2 separate regions of the Homo sapiens genome follow, and region 1 is linked to region 2. The links are contacts of gene promoters, found by promoter capture Hi-C in blood cells and fetal thymus (Javierre and others, 2016). All regions are on one chromosome and are shown on one strand. The core of a region is centred on a gene start or on the middle of the fragment in contact, and the rest is flanking DNA. Distances in the headings are between cores, read along the strand shown. Region 1 holds the start of STRBP (spermatid perinuclear RNA binding protein). Region 2 holds the start of DENND1A (DENN domain containing 1A).

The links. Contacts are between HindIII fragments. The CHiCAGO score rates a contact against its expected background, and 5 or more counts as called.
Region 1: the fragment with the promoter of STRBP here is called in contact with the fragment with the promoter of DENND1A in region 2 in 4 of 17 cell types (total CD8 T cells, M0 macrophages, activated CD4 T cells and 1 more); the score reaches 8.9 in total CD8 T cells.

What each region holds. Positions count from the first base shown.
Region 1 is chr9:123,266,544-123,273,289 of GRCh38, reverse strand. It overlaps STRBP (spermatid perinuclear RNA binding protein), which reads left to right and starts at 4,704. Exons shown (of 19, transcript NM_018387.5): 1 at 4,704-4,854. RefSeq lists silencers at 4,279-4,758, 4,929-4,978 and an enhancer at 4,378-4,878. The HindIII fragment of the contact is 5,570 bases long and covers 3,433-6,746 here.
Region 2 is chr9:123,926,119-123,933,596 of GRCh38, reverse strand. It overlaps DENND1A (DENN domain containing 1A), which reads left to right and starts at 3,471. Exons shown (of 24, transcript NM_001352964.2): 1 at 3,471-3,708. The coding sequence starts at 3,692. RefSeq lists a silencer at 3,245-3,734 and enhancers at 4,085-4,284, 3,914-4,599, 4,535-4,614, 5,665-5,714. The HindIII fragment of the contact is 11,751 bases long and covers 1,504-7,478 here.

The DNA of each region.
Region 1 (6,746 bases), core at 3,455-5,954, 660 kb after region 2:
CCTGAAAACTCTGTCTCCCAGGTTCAAGTGATTCTCCCACCTCAGCCTCCCAAGTAGTTGGAACTACAGGCATGTGCCACCACACCTGGCTAATTTGTCTATTTTTTGGTAGGGACAAGGTTTCACCATGTTCGCCAGGCTGGTTTCAAATTTCTGGCCTCAAGAGATCCATCCGTCTCGGCATCCAAAAGTGCTGAGATTACAGGTGTGAGCCACTGTGCCAGGCCGAAAAGGTCTACTTTATTTATTTATTTATTTATTTATTTGTTTGTTTGTTTGAGACGGAGTCTTGCTGTGTCTCCCAGGCTGGAGTGCAGTGGCACCATCTTGGCTGACTGTAACCTCCGCCTCCTGGGTTCAAGTGATTCTCCTGCCTCAGCCTCCTGAGTAGCTGGGACTACAGGCACGTGCCACTGCACCCGGCTAATTTTTGTATTTTTAGTAGAGATGGGGTTTCACCATGTTAGCCAGACTGGTCCCTAACTCCTGACCTCAGGCGATCCGCTCACCTCGGCCTCCCAAAGTGCTGGTATTACAGGCATGAGCCCCCGGCACCCAACCAGTCTGTTTGATTTTTTTACAAAAATGTATCAGGCCCTGTGCAGAGGCTCACACCTGTAGTTGCAGCACTTTAGGAGGCTGAGGAGGGAGTATCCCTTGAGCCCAGAGTTTGAGACCAGCCTGGGCAACATGATGAAACCCAGTCTCTACTAAAAAAAATACAAAAAGTTAACCTGGCACAATGGCATGCCTGTAGTCCCAGCTGCTCAGGAGGCTGAGGTGGGAGGATCGCTTGAACCTGGGAGACAGAGGTTTCAGTGAGCCGAGATTGCGCCACTGCACTCCAGCCTGGGTGACAGAACAAAACTCTGTCTAAAAAAAAAGAAGTATCAGATATACCAGAAAAAACAAAAAATAGAGACAGAAAGTAGACTGGTGTTTGCTTGTGGCCAGGGTTGGAAATGGGATTAACACTTAATGAGCATGAGAGTCTTACGGGGGATCCATAAGGTATGCTAAATGTTCTTTTTTTTTTAGACAGAGTTTTCCTCTGTCACCAGGCTGGAGTGCAGTGCCATGATCTTGGCTCACTGTAACCTCTGCCTCCTGGGTTCAAGCCATTCTCCTGGCTCAGCCTCCTGAGTAGCTGGGATTACAGGTGTCCACCACCATGCCCAGCTAATTTTTGTATTTTTAGTAGAGACGGGGTTTCACCATGGTGGTCAGGATGGTCTCGATCTCCTGACCTCGTGATCTGCCCACCTTGGCCTCCCAAAGTGCTGAGCCACCGTGCCCGGCAAGGTATGCTAAATGTTCTGAAACTGACTTATGTTAATGTTGCACCACTTAGTGAAGTTACTGAAAATCATTGGATTGTACATTTTTGAAATGCATAATTTTATGTGTAAACTATACCTCAAGTAAATTGTTAAAAATCTATGTGTGATTACACGCCTGTAATCACAGCACTTTGGGAGGCCAAGGCGGGAGAATCACTTGAGACCAGGAGTTCGAGACCAGCCTGGCCCATCTCTACTAAAAATACAAAAAAAATTAGACGGGTGTGGAGGCACACGCCTGTAATCCCAGCTACTTGGGAGGCTGAGGCAGGAGAATGGCTTGAACCTGGGAGACTGAGGTTGCAGTGAGGCGAGATTGTGCCACTGCACTCCAGACTGGGTGACAGAGTGAGACTCTGTCTCAAAACAAAACAGGCTGGGCACGGTGGTTCACGCCTGTAATCTCAACACTTTGGGAGGCCGAGGCGGGCAGATCATTTGAAGTCAGGAGTTCAAGACTAGCCTGACCAACATGGTGAAACCTCATCTCTACTAAAATACAAAAATTAGCCAGGCATGGTGGCAGGCGCCTGTAATCTCAGCTACTCAGGAAGCTGAGGCAAGAGTATCACTTGAACCCAGGAGGCAGAGGTTACAGTGAGCCAAGATTGCGCCACTGCACTACAGCCTGGGCGACAGAGCAAGACCCCTCTCAAAAACAAAGCAAAACAAAAATCTGCATATGTATCCTTAAAAAATTAAAACAATGCAGAAATTTTTAAGTCCTCCATCCCCACACCCAGTTCTATCTTCCAGGCATAACCAATAGTGGTTGGTGTTTAATCCTTTCTGACGTTTTTCTATGGAGAATCCAACATACACATTACAGATAAATAATTTTCTGCAACTTTCTTTTTTCTTTGGACATGTAATGAGGGACATGAAAAATTAACAGTAACTACTCTGGAGTTGGGATTGGGGTAGTGGGAGTGGAGTCAAGGGCAGGAAGGGAGAGAGACATTAACTTTTTTTTTGAGACGGAGTTTCGCTCTTGTTGTCCAGGCTAGAGTGCAATCACGGGATCTCGGCTCATTGCAACCTCTGCCCCCCGGGTTCAAGCGATTCTCCTGCCTCAGCCTCCCGAGTAGCTAGGATTACAGGTACACACCAACACGTCCGGCTAATTTTCGTATTTTTAGTAGAGATGGGGTTTTGCCCCATTGGCCAGGCTGGTCTTGAACTCCTGACCTCAGGTGATCCACACGCCTCGGCCTCCCAAAAGTGCTAGGATTACCAGCGTGAGCCACTGCGTCTGGCCTAACTTTTTACTTTCTTTCCTTTTATATAATTTGCATGCTTTTGTCTCAGTGTTTGGAGTTACAAACCCAATAAAGATATTGAAACAAGAAATACTATTGAATCCTTAATGCCATGCTGTTCTTCTATTTTAAAAAAATTAAAAATGTAACCAAGTGCTGGACACCGTGCTGAGTGCCTTAGATATACGGTTGCAATGAATCCTTCTAACAACCCTACAATATGCAATACTATTAGTCTCACTTGGCAGATGAGTAAACTTAGACTAGAGAGATTGATTTTCCAAGATCACACAGCTAGTGTGCAGTGAATCTGGATCTTTACAGTGTGGCGCCTCTTCTCCCTCTGATACTTATGGGCATCCTACAAAACCCAGCTTTAATGATCTCATGTCATGTGCACGTGTAGTCTTCCCTAACACACTTAGGCAGGAAGATGACCCTGTCCTCAAGGGACTGAGAGACCAGGGAGGAGACAGACAGCTAAACAATTACAATCTAGTGCCATGAGAATACATATAGCTTAACAGGACTATGTTCAAGCCGAGGGAGCTTAGACCATGTGTCTGAGGCAGCCAAGGATCTCCAGAGAATATACTCTGAGCTGATTGATAAGGATACCCAGGATTTTTTTCAGGAGGGTCAAGGAAGGTGTGAGTGGTCAGAGGTGGGGAGAGGGTTTAGAAAGGGATTTGCGGCCTGGCATCTGTCTCAGGAGACTCAGGCTCCTACACACCTGGGCATACTCTGGAAACAACAGTACTGTAGTTCTGTGTGGCTGGAGGGTCACATTGGCCTGAAGGAGGGGCAAAGGGAAGGGCGTGCACCTTGAAGCTTAAGGCCAGATCACCAAGGCCTTTTCAGTTGAAATTGGGTTTTTTACACTTTATTCTGTGAATGAAACAGAGCTGTTAAAATATTTGAGCCTGGTGTGTTAGAAAGATGAAAAGGGGCCCCAAGGGGGCTGTTGTGGGGAGTCCCTCCTCAACCCCTGGGCTGTTCAAGGTCCTCTGTCTTGGCACTGAGTGGTCAGGTCGTTTCTGCTCCAGGCTGGGAATTGTCTTAGGGCAAAGACATTGTCTCATTTGCCAGTGCATCCCTGCAGCCTGCAAACCCCCCGGTATACAGCAGGGACTGTATACTGGCAAGCAGAATGCTGGGCACCAAGAACTTGAGGCCAGGGACTGTAGAATAGAAAGCGAACCTTTAATTCTTCCCCAGCGCCGCCCCTGGCACAGAGCTGGTAGGTGTTCAGCCAAAGTCTGACCCAACCATAAGGAGGTCAGAGAGGTCCTGGGCCCAAACTCAATCCCAGCGAGGTTCATTATAGGCAGGTGAAGGAGAGGTGATTGTAGCAGCTTCTGTTCAGCGACTGCTGTGTGCCAGGATTCACACCTATTGTCTTATGCCATCTCCCCAACAGCTCCTAAATTGGAATTATTGTCCCAGTTTTCCTGATGAGGAAACTGAGGCTCAGAACGGTTCTTGGTAACTTGGCCAAGGTCACACAGCCAGCAAGTAGGTGGGCGGTGGCACAAGTCAAAGCCTACTGGCCTGCCCCTCTACCTCGGGAGGCAGTGCGACGCCTACTCCATTTGTGTGGCTGCTGGGGTTGGGGGGCATCCCGCACTGGGGTGCGGGGCCCGGGGAAGGCGGCTAGCCGCCGCGGCTCGGCGCAGCTCCCAGGTTCGGAAGTTACGAAGTTTCCGTGCATTTCGCTAGCCTCCCAGCGCAGCTCGTCTCCGCTCCGCCGCAGTTACGCCGCTAGCGCAGCGGGGCTCAGGTGCTGCAGCGAGCGGGGGCCTGGGGCCGGGAGGAAGGCGGGGACGCAGTTTACGTAAGCGTCCGCTGGCAGGTGCATAAGGCCGCCGGCGGCGAGTGCTCCCTGCGCGCTCCCAGGTGCGCACTTGGCGCAGGCGGCGGCACAGCAAGGCGGCGGCGGGCGCTGGCCGGCGCTCTCAGGTGCGGCAGGACGCGCGTGGAGGGGGCGCGCGGCGAACGAGGGGGCGGGCTTTCCGTTCCCCAGCAGCCGCGGGGCCCGCCCCCTGGCCTGGCCAATGGGCGCGCTCGACGGTGTCACGTGCTCGCTGCCGCCGCTGCCGCCGCCGAAGCGGAGACCGGAGCCGCGAGCGCCACCAGGGCAGCAGCCGCCGCAGCCGCCGCCGCTGGGCAGAGGAGCCGGAGACGCGAGCGGGCGAGGTGGCGGCGGCGGCGGAGCGGGAGCGGGTACCGGGCGCGGGCAGAGCGCGGCGGCGCGGGTAGGCTCCGGCGGCGGGGCGGGCGCCTGCGCGGCGGGCCGTCCCGGGCGGGCGGCGGTTAAGGCGGCGGTTGAGGCGGTTGGCGGAGCCGGCCCGGGCCCCGCATTGTTTGTTGTGCGTCCTTAGCAGCGGCGGCGGCGGTGGCGGCCGAGGCGGAGAGCAGGGAGCAATCCCGGCCCCGCGGCTCCGGCATTGTGGCCGCCGCCGCCGCCGCTGCGGTGCCCCGGCCGCTTCGGGCAAGGGCAGCGGGCAGCCTTCCTCACCTTCGCGGGGACGGGGTCCCGGCCGATCAGGGGAGGGCGTGGGCAGGGTTGGGGGACGCGGTGCCGGGAGGTCTTCCGGGACGGAGGGCTCGGGGCTCGGGGCAGGTGTTGGAGGACATTGGGGGCAGGAGCTGGGGAGAGGCTTCGGGGGGCAGGCGGAAGGTGTGGGCAGATTTGGGGGTAAATAGGGGTGCAGAGGGATCCGGCCCAATGGAGGAGGAGAGCCTTCAGGCAGGTTTGGGGGGCCCCCTGGGCCAGGCGAGTGCGAGATGGAGGACATTCCGTCCGGTGGGGGGGGGCACTATATTGTGGGGTTCAAGAGGGAATGAGGGGGCTTTTGGGGAGGGCAGGGACGAGTGGGGTGGGAATGGAGGGAGAAGACTGGGGACTCGAGCAGGACTGGAAGGAGCGCTGCGTGCCAGGGGCAGGGAGTGGGGCGGGTATTAGGAAGGCCACCGGGACGCCCGTGAAGGGGAACGATGGAGGAGGGGGTCGGGGCAGGGGGAAGTGAGGGCAGGCAGGGAGCGCCTGAAAGGGAGGGAGGGGAGCAGGGTGCCTAGGCTTCTGGGGTGATAGGGAAATGAAGGGTAGGCCCAGGGGCTCCAGGAGACCTGCGAGGGGTGTGAGGGAGTGTGTGGCCAGGTGTATAGGGGAGCCTGCAGGGAGGCGGGAGGGGGTTGACATGTAAGGATAAAAAGGCAGGTATCTGGTGCTCAGGGAAGAGGAGTATGGGGTGGAAGGGGGAAGTTCATTGGGGCAGAGACTTAGTTTGAGGGCTTGCAGAGAGAGGTGGGGACAGTAGGAGAAGGGTGATGGGGATGGAGAGCAGGAGGTGTGTGGGGCATTTAAAGGATAGCGGGAGAAGTGCGTGAAATGGAGGGTGTTTATGCAGGAAGTATGGAAGAAGGTGGGATCAGCAAGAGAGGGAATTTTGAGGTAGGACGGAGGGTGAGGGGTTCTTGGCAAGTGTTGGAGGACGTTAGGGGCAGGAGCTGGGGGAGAGGGACAGGTGTGGGGTGGCGTGGAGTGTGTGAGGTGGAGGGCAAAAGGGGGTGGGGAAAGGGAAGTGTTCTTGGAGTGGCAGGTAAAGTGTGGGGACAAATGGAAGGAAAGATTTCTGAGGCGGGAAGTGTGGAGCGGTTGGGGAGGAGGAAGGTGGAGGGGAGGGTGAGAACGAAATCAGTAGAGGGGGACAACGGGATAGACTGGAGGGGAAGGTGGACAGGTCTGGAGTACAGTAGGTGGAGGGAGGGAAGCACAGGTTTGGGGCACTGAATTTTGTGCTGTAGGGAGAAGGGAGGTAGGGAGAAAGAAGGAAGGTAGACAGGCTATTTTGGGGTAGAGGATGTAGAAGAATGCTTAATACCTATAGTGGAGTAAGGGAAGGGCAAGGCAGAGGTGTATGTGGACATGTCTGTAACTAGAAAGGCATAGGTGATGGATTGGAGTGGTGGTGGTGGTGGTGGGGGAAATAGGATGCCCAGGTTTAGGGCAGGAAATGACTGCTTAAGTTGGAGAGAGCTAGGAACACAGGTTGCTTAAGAGAGTATGGAAGATCCAAGGAGTGGAAGTATGGGGAGAGATTGGAACACTTTGAGTTTGAGAGATGAAAGGGGCCAAGATTTTTAG
Region 2 (7,478 bases), core at 2,222-4,721:
CAGAGTTTGACGTGGACAGATCCTCCTTCCTTCCTGCAGGCTGGGCTGCAGATTAGATAGCTAGAGTTTAAGCAGCCATCCTGGACTATGAGGTGGAAATTCTTCCTGGAGAATCGGAGAGCAATAAGATAGAATTCTGGGTCTCCATTAATTATAGAATTGTCATACCAGCTCTGGAATGTTAATCGCCAGACTTTATGTGAAAGAGAAATAAAATTCTATTTTTTTCAACAATTGTTATTTCACTTCTCTATCATTTACAGTTGAATTGAATTCTAACTGATACAGAACGTGAACAAACAAGTTGGGCTGAGAACTCAGGTCTCCCGAATCCAAGCATGGTACTCTTTATTATTATGTTGATCAGTTTTACAAAATGTATTTATTTATTTCAGAGATGGGGCCTCGCTATGTTGCTCAGGGTGGAGTGCAGTGGCTATTCATGGGCATGATCATAGCGTGCTGCAGCCTCAAAATCCTAGGCTCAGCCTTAAACTCCTGGGCTCAGCCTCCTGAGTAGCTGGCACTACAGGAACAAGCCACGGAGCTGGGTACTTTTTTTTTTTTTTTTTTGAGACGGAGTTTTGCTCTGTCGCCCAGGCTGGAGTGCAGTGGCATGATCTCGGCTCACTGCAAAATCCGCCTCCTGGGTTCACGCCATTCTCCTGCCTCAGGCTCCCATGTAGCTGGGACTACAGGTGCCCACCACCACGCCCAGCTAATTTTTGGTATTTTTTTTTAGTACAGATGGGGTTTCACCATGTTAGCCAGGATGGTCTCCATCTCCTGACCTCATGATCTGCCCGCCTCAGCCTCCCAAAGTCCTGGGATTACAGGCATGAGCCACCATGCCCGGCCTTTGTTTTTCCTTTGAGACAGTCTTGCTCTGTTGCCCAGGCTGGAGTGCAGTGGCGTGATCTCGGCTCACTACAACTTCTGCCTTCTGGGTTCAAGCGATTCTCCTGCCTCAGCCTCTTGAGTAGCTGGGACCACAGGCGCCTGCCACCACACCCGGCTAAATTTTTTCTATTTTTTAGTAGAGATGGGTTTTCACCATGTTGGTGGTCAGGCTGGTCTTGAACTCCTGGCCTCAAGTGATCCACTCGCCTTGGCCTCCCAAAGTGCTGGGATTACAGGTGTGAGCCACCATGCCCAGCCACTGGTTGCCTTATTAATTTTAATAATAAAAGCCAAACGGTGCTAAGTGTTTTGTATATAATAGTTGCTTTTAATTTTTGAGTACTTAATATGTGATAATCACTGTTTAAATACTTTATAAATGTCACTAACTCACTTAATCCTCGTGTCAACTCACTAAAATAGGTCTATTATTATCACCATTTCCATTTTACAGACAGAGAACCTGAGACACACAGAGAAGGAATAATTCACCCAAGGCCATATATTTAGTAAGAGGTAGAGCTGAGATTTAAACCCTGGCAGTCTGGTTCTAGAGCCTGTGCTCTTTGCTCCTATGTTACACTCGCTCTTATGATGGAAGCTTCTCATCACTCTCTCTGCCCATTTTACGGGGGAGGAAACTAAAACATACACTTGTCTAATCATTTGCATAAAATCTGCCAGTCAATGCTGAAGCCAGAATTAGAAGCCACGTTCCTAACTCCCAGTCCAGTGCTCTCTCCTCAGACCACCCTGCTGTCTCTGAGGCCACCTGAGCAGACACATAATCCCCACCTTCTACCTCCCTCTCCAACACACACACACACACACACACACACACACACACACACACACACCCCACCCAGCAGGCACCCAGACATATTTGTGGCCAGGATGGCTACAACCTCCTTTGAAAAGCAGCCAGCTTTGCCCTCCACCAATAACTTTGTTTTATTTATAGTCTCCTGCTCAGAGCTTTTGAACTGGCTCCCATTCCAGGGAAGATCTTGATAGCAACTGTTCCTTGGAGAAGTTTCATAGGTGAATAAACACCACAGAGCTCCTGCCTGTCTAGCAGAGCTTTGCTCCTGGGGGTGTTTACAAGTCGGTATTGGTGTCTGGGTGCATAAGACTTTAAATTCAAAATGACAGTTTGGACATTTTCACTTTTTTTTTGGTTTTCATTTTAAAAAGTTTACCCTTTGACTTCAACAACCTAAAGGCAGAGGCAAAAGGGAGAAACTATCTTTATTCAGAAGGTGACTCCAACAGAAGAAGTCTTCTACGACTTATCTTCTGGCTTTCTTTCCTCCCATCCTGGCCGGGAGCTAGGACGCAGGACCAGTTACGTAGAGGCTATGGGGTGGGGGTAGGGTGGGGAGGCACTCCATGCATTTATAAGAACTAAAATGGCAGAAGTGATGAATGGCATTTCGGGACAGAAAATTGGAAAAAAAAAAAAAAAAAGGAAAAAAAGCCTAATATTAAAAATGTCTTTGGACTTGTGGCCAAAGGTGCCACCTTAAAGCATGACTATGTCACAGGTGTCTGGAATGATTCAGTCTGGACACTAATCTTGGCTTCTTCACTCGTTGCTAGTTATGTGACCTTGGGAATGTGGCTCAGTTTCCTCTTTGTAAATTAGGGAGATGAACACAGGATTATTGTGAGGATTGGCACTAATGATGTACGGAAATACTGTGTCTGATGCAGAAAGGGCACTCACCCGCTCATTAAAGGGTGGCTAATGGTAGCTGTGATTATTGCTTCCTTTATGATCCCTCTGGCCCTAGAGGGGATGAAATTGAGGTGTTCATGGAAGTGAATCCCAAGGGGGAGCAGGGGTAGGTAGCAGGCTGGTGATCTCGGCTCTCAAATCCTTTCATTTGCATTGAGTTAATCTCTATCAGGGACTGTTGTGTTAACAGGAGGCTTCGATGTTGGAGTTCCCAAAACGGCTGATAAAGGGAGGCAGAGGTCCTCAGCGGGAGGGCAGAGCTGAGCCACCACGTGGGTCCACGAAGCCCCCAGGTGGCTTTCCTGTAGGTATGTGGGGTCTCCTTCAAGCTCTAAGGGGAAAGGAAGAGGAAAGGCCTTCAGATGGGGAAGTGGACGGTGTGATGGAGAAGAGGTTCTGCACGGAACTTACTGGAAGGTGCGGGATGTTAAAGGGAAAACGTGTTTTCATGGAGGCCTGGGCGGGGGATTAGCTCTCCGTTAGAGAGGCTGGGTGGGAGGCCTCCAATGGGAGGATTGGTGGCGGTTTCATCGGGAGGGCTTGGGGTCTCCATGAGAGGATTAGGGTCTCTTCAGGGCGGCTGTGAGTGGAGGTTTCCAGCGGGGCGCAGTGGGGTGCAGATGTGTAAGGGCCTGCAACGGAACGCCAGAGTCCTCCGGGGCCCGCGCCCTGGGAGACGTGCGGGTGACCGCGCTCCCGCCCCGCCCCCACCGGCCACGGCCCCGCCCCCGCGAGCGGACTACACTTCCCAGCAGCCCCAGCGGGCAGCGGCGGCGGCAGCGCGGGCGGGAGGGGCGGTGGTGAGAGGCGGAGGGGGCGGCGCGCGCCGGGCACGCGCGCCGGCGACCATGGCGTTCGCCGGGCTGGAGCGAGTACATTAACCCCTGGAGGCGGCGGCGGCGGCGAGGGAGCGAGCCTCGAGCGGGCGGGCCCCAGCCTGAGGGAAGGGAGGAAGGGGCGGGGAGAGCGCCAGAGGGAGGCCGGTCGGCCGCGGGCGGGCGGGCAGCGCAGCGCCGAGCGGGGCCCGCGGGCCCATGAGGAGGCCTGGGGACCATGGGCTCCAGGATCAAGTGAGTGCGGCCGGGCCGGGCGGAGCCGGGCCGGGCGCGGGGCGGCGAGGCCGGGCCAGGGCTGCAGGCCGCGGGCCGCGCGGGGGACTTGTTGCCGAGACCAGAGGGGCGCCCCGCGTGACGCCGGCACGCGGGGAGGGGGACGGTTGCTATGGCGATCCAGGGAGGCGCGGGGGCGGGGTGCGCGCGGGGTGGCAGGGCGCCGGGGGTCAGGTGTCCCCTCCTCACCTGGGGGTCGGAACAGCTGAGATTACAGGGCGGCCCCCTCCCCGGGTTTACGGAGAGCCCCTGAAAATGGTCCTTCAACTGTGGGGAAGGGGAGTGGGAAAGCCCCGGAAGCACCTCCCCATGTTTGGGCATGTTTGGGGCGCCCCTGAAAGTTGGCAGGTCCGGAGAGGTTGCAGCCTGGCCGCTTGAGGCCTGCGGCCCCCACAGAAGTCGCGTGAGGTTCTTAGAGGGAGGGGCCGCTCATGGTGTGGCCACCTAAGGTGTGGATGGCCGGGGAGGAAGGCCTGTCTCTCTATTTCCCCCCTCTTATCTGTGAAAATCTCCACGCAGCAAGGTCCAAAGGCTGTGAAGGAGGATACCTCTGTGTTGTAACCGAGCACCTGCTCTTGATAATCGTTGGAAAGGCTTTGTAACTCAATCTGGCGAATTCCCTCACTCATTCATTCACCTGGAGTTCCCGGTGGAGGGTTAGCTTTCCGGGGAAATTGTTGATACATGTAACTTCAGAATCCACTGAAACATTGTTGCTGTCCTTGTAGACTTAGAAGTTGACTTTGGAAAGTGCAACTCTTAAGCGGTCCAATTTGGGTGTGTGGCTTTCGACTCTATCTCCCCTCCCAGCCAGGTCCTCTTGTGGCCTCTCCCTTCCTCTGCCCCAGAACTGGAGATGTTTTATCTCTAATTACTAACAAATGTTCACTTTTTCCTCTGTGACTAATAGAATTGTTTAAGGGCATTAAAAAGCAAAGTTGACAGCATAGGCTTTTCTGTAAAACAACTTTCCTAGGACACTTTAAACCCTCTTACAAGAAAGTTTGTGGAATGTGTTTATTTCAGCATTTTGAGAATTGTACTAGGGAAGTTTGAAAGGAGAAGGGCCTTAAGGGTGAAACTAATAATTATTCAAACATTGCATCTCATGTCCAGGTGATGCCCGTGCAGTGTGACCCTTGCCCAGCCTTGCAGTCCCCCGTGTGGTTAGGCTTCTCATTTACAAAATATGTATGAGATGCGCTGCAGCAGCCTTGAGACATCTGCTGAATGAAACTAGAAAAGTTTGCTTATGGTAATGAAAATGGAAGAGTCGCATGAACACTCTGTTAAATCTTTATTTTTGTGGAAATGAGAAAAAAGTTAGAAGCATGCTCCAAACAAGAGCTTGAGAGGCTTGGGAGGTAAAAAGATGTCGTTTGTGAAACATTGGGATTAAAGAGGCACTCAAGTTTAGCTCCTGCTTCCAAGTAAGAGTTGTAAACTTGGATTTCAATAGCACTTAGAAACACTTTCCAGAAGCCAACTTAGAGTTGCAGAGTATGCGTGAGGACACTTACCCTTCTTGTTACAGAAAAGTTCAGAAACTTGCCTGACATGAAGCAGTGAGTGTCAGAACCAGTATTAAAATCCAGCAAGTAAAAGTTCAGATGGCTAGCCATCAAATCTCTCTGTTGCTCTCCAAGGTAGCAGGTTGACAAATACATTTCTCAAATGTGTTTTGTGGAACCCATCGCTAATTCTGAGCACTTGGGTTAGGGAATTTACTAAGGCATGGAATTGTATTAAGCGTGAAATGAGTATGAAGAATAGCCTTATTGATCTTGAAACTAGACTACTCTGTGATAAAAACTTAGGCTTGGGAAATATGTTAGCTTGTGGTGAAACCGAAAGAGAATATGAAGAGAGAAGTTATGAAAAGTAGTTGTGATTTATAGTGACTGTTGATTATGCAACTTCTGCCTGTAGCTAGGAATGGGGATGGACAGGAAATTACCCACTTAAGTGCTCCTCTAGTTGTTGGAGAAGACAGAGCTTTGGTTACTACTGGCTGGCTTTCCCTCCTGGCAGGGCATTCAAGATGTTCTCCTGGCTGTGGTGAAATCTAAGTGTGCAGGTTCCATTGAATAGGACAGTCTTGGAGGTAGGGACAAGGGGGAGGGGTTCCTTTTGTTTTCTCTTGCTTATCTCTGATGCAGCAAGTCAGTTGACTAGGTGGAATCAGGTCTAGGTTCAAATTCCAGCTCTTTTTAATGCTAATTATGAAACTTTACACAGACTGCCTTTTCAACCTCAGTTTCCCTGAAGGTAAAATGGGGAGGACTGTGTCCAGGTTGTAGGGTTATTATGAGCATTGAACACAGTATCAATGTAAATGTCAGGTCCATGTTAAAAACTCAGTAATTGTTAGGTTTTTTTCTTTTTTTTCACCTTCTGTATCAAAAGACTAAGAACATTACTGTATATTAGAAATGTCAGAGAAAGGTATGTTTAAGGTAATGGAGAAGAAAATTTTAATGACCAAGGAATTAGGCTGTTAACATGCAGAGTAGGGCTTAACATTGTCTCATTATTAAAAAATAAAAGTTGATTTAAAACAATATTGTGTGTAATTGTGAAGCTGGTGTCTGTTGTGTGATCAGTGGTAAAGCACGTGAGTTGCTAGGCACAGGTGTTGAGATTTCGTGTTTGATCAGACTTCTCTTTTAAGTTTAAGCCTGGTTGAACACAATCTCTGTCAGGTACCGTGGAAATCCTTAATGTGAACCATTTCATGAAACCCTCACTACTGTCCAGTGGTGGCGATGCTATTTATTAACCACATTTTTCAAATGAGAGAATGGGAGTTTATAGGCCTAAGATCAGATGCCATCCCCCAGACGCCTGCCTTGATGCCAGTTTCCTGTTGCCACCCCCACCCCCTCCTGTTCCAGTCTAGGCCAGGTGCCCTTCATCCGTGTTTCTGTGGCCCCTTGTGTTTATTGCAGTCACAATACTGAATCTCGTTTCTTGTCTGTGTCCCGTACCATGCTGGACATAAACTTCTTGAGAGGAAGGACTGTCTTATTTATCTTTGAGTTCCCTGTGTCAGACTCAATGCCTGGCACATGGTTGTTTGAGAAGAGTTCATGGAACGCATTTAAGAAATACATTAGGATCTATATTAAGATTCTAATTAAGACCGAGTTGAGTGTTTATCGAGTTAAAAAAAAAACCCTTGAGGAAGAAAAGTTTTATATTTTATAAATTTCTAAGGCAAATTATATGGTTTACGCAGGCCTTTTACTAGATTATTTAGTTCTTTTTTTTTTTTTTTTTTTTGAGATGGAGTTTTGCTCTTGTTGCCCAGGCTGGAGTGCAATGGCATGATCTTGGCTCATGGCAACCTCCAACCCCCGGGTTCAAGCGATTCTCCTGCCTCAGCTTCCCCAGTAGTTGGGATTACATGCATGAGACACCATGCCTGGCTAATTTTCTTTATTTGGTAGAGACGGGTTTCTCCCGTGTTGGTCAGGCTGGTCTTGAACTCCCAGCCTCAGGTGATCTGCCTGCCTTGGCCTCCCAAAGTGCTGGGATTACAGGTGTGATGTGAGCCACCGTGCCCAGCCTCATGTTTATTTTAATAAAGGAACATTGTCTTGCCTCAAATCAACATTTAATGGACAAAAAAAGAGAAGGTCACCAGTATGCAGGTAGCACCCTGGAAACCTAAATGTTACATCTGTATGGACATTTATCTAGAAGAATAAAAGGAGCAGTGGTAACTGACA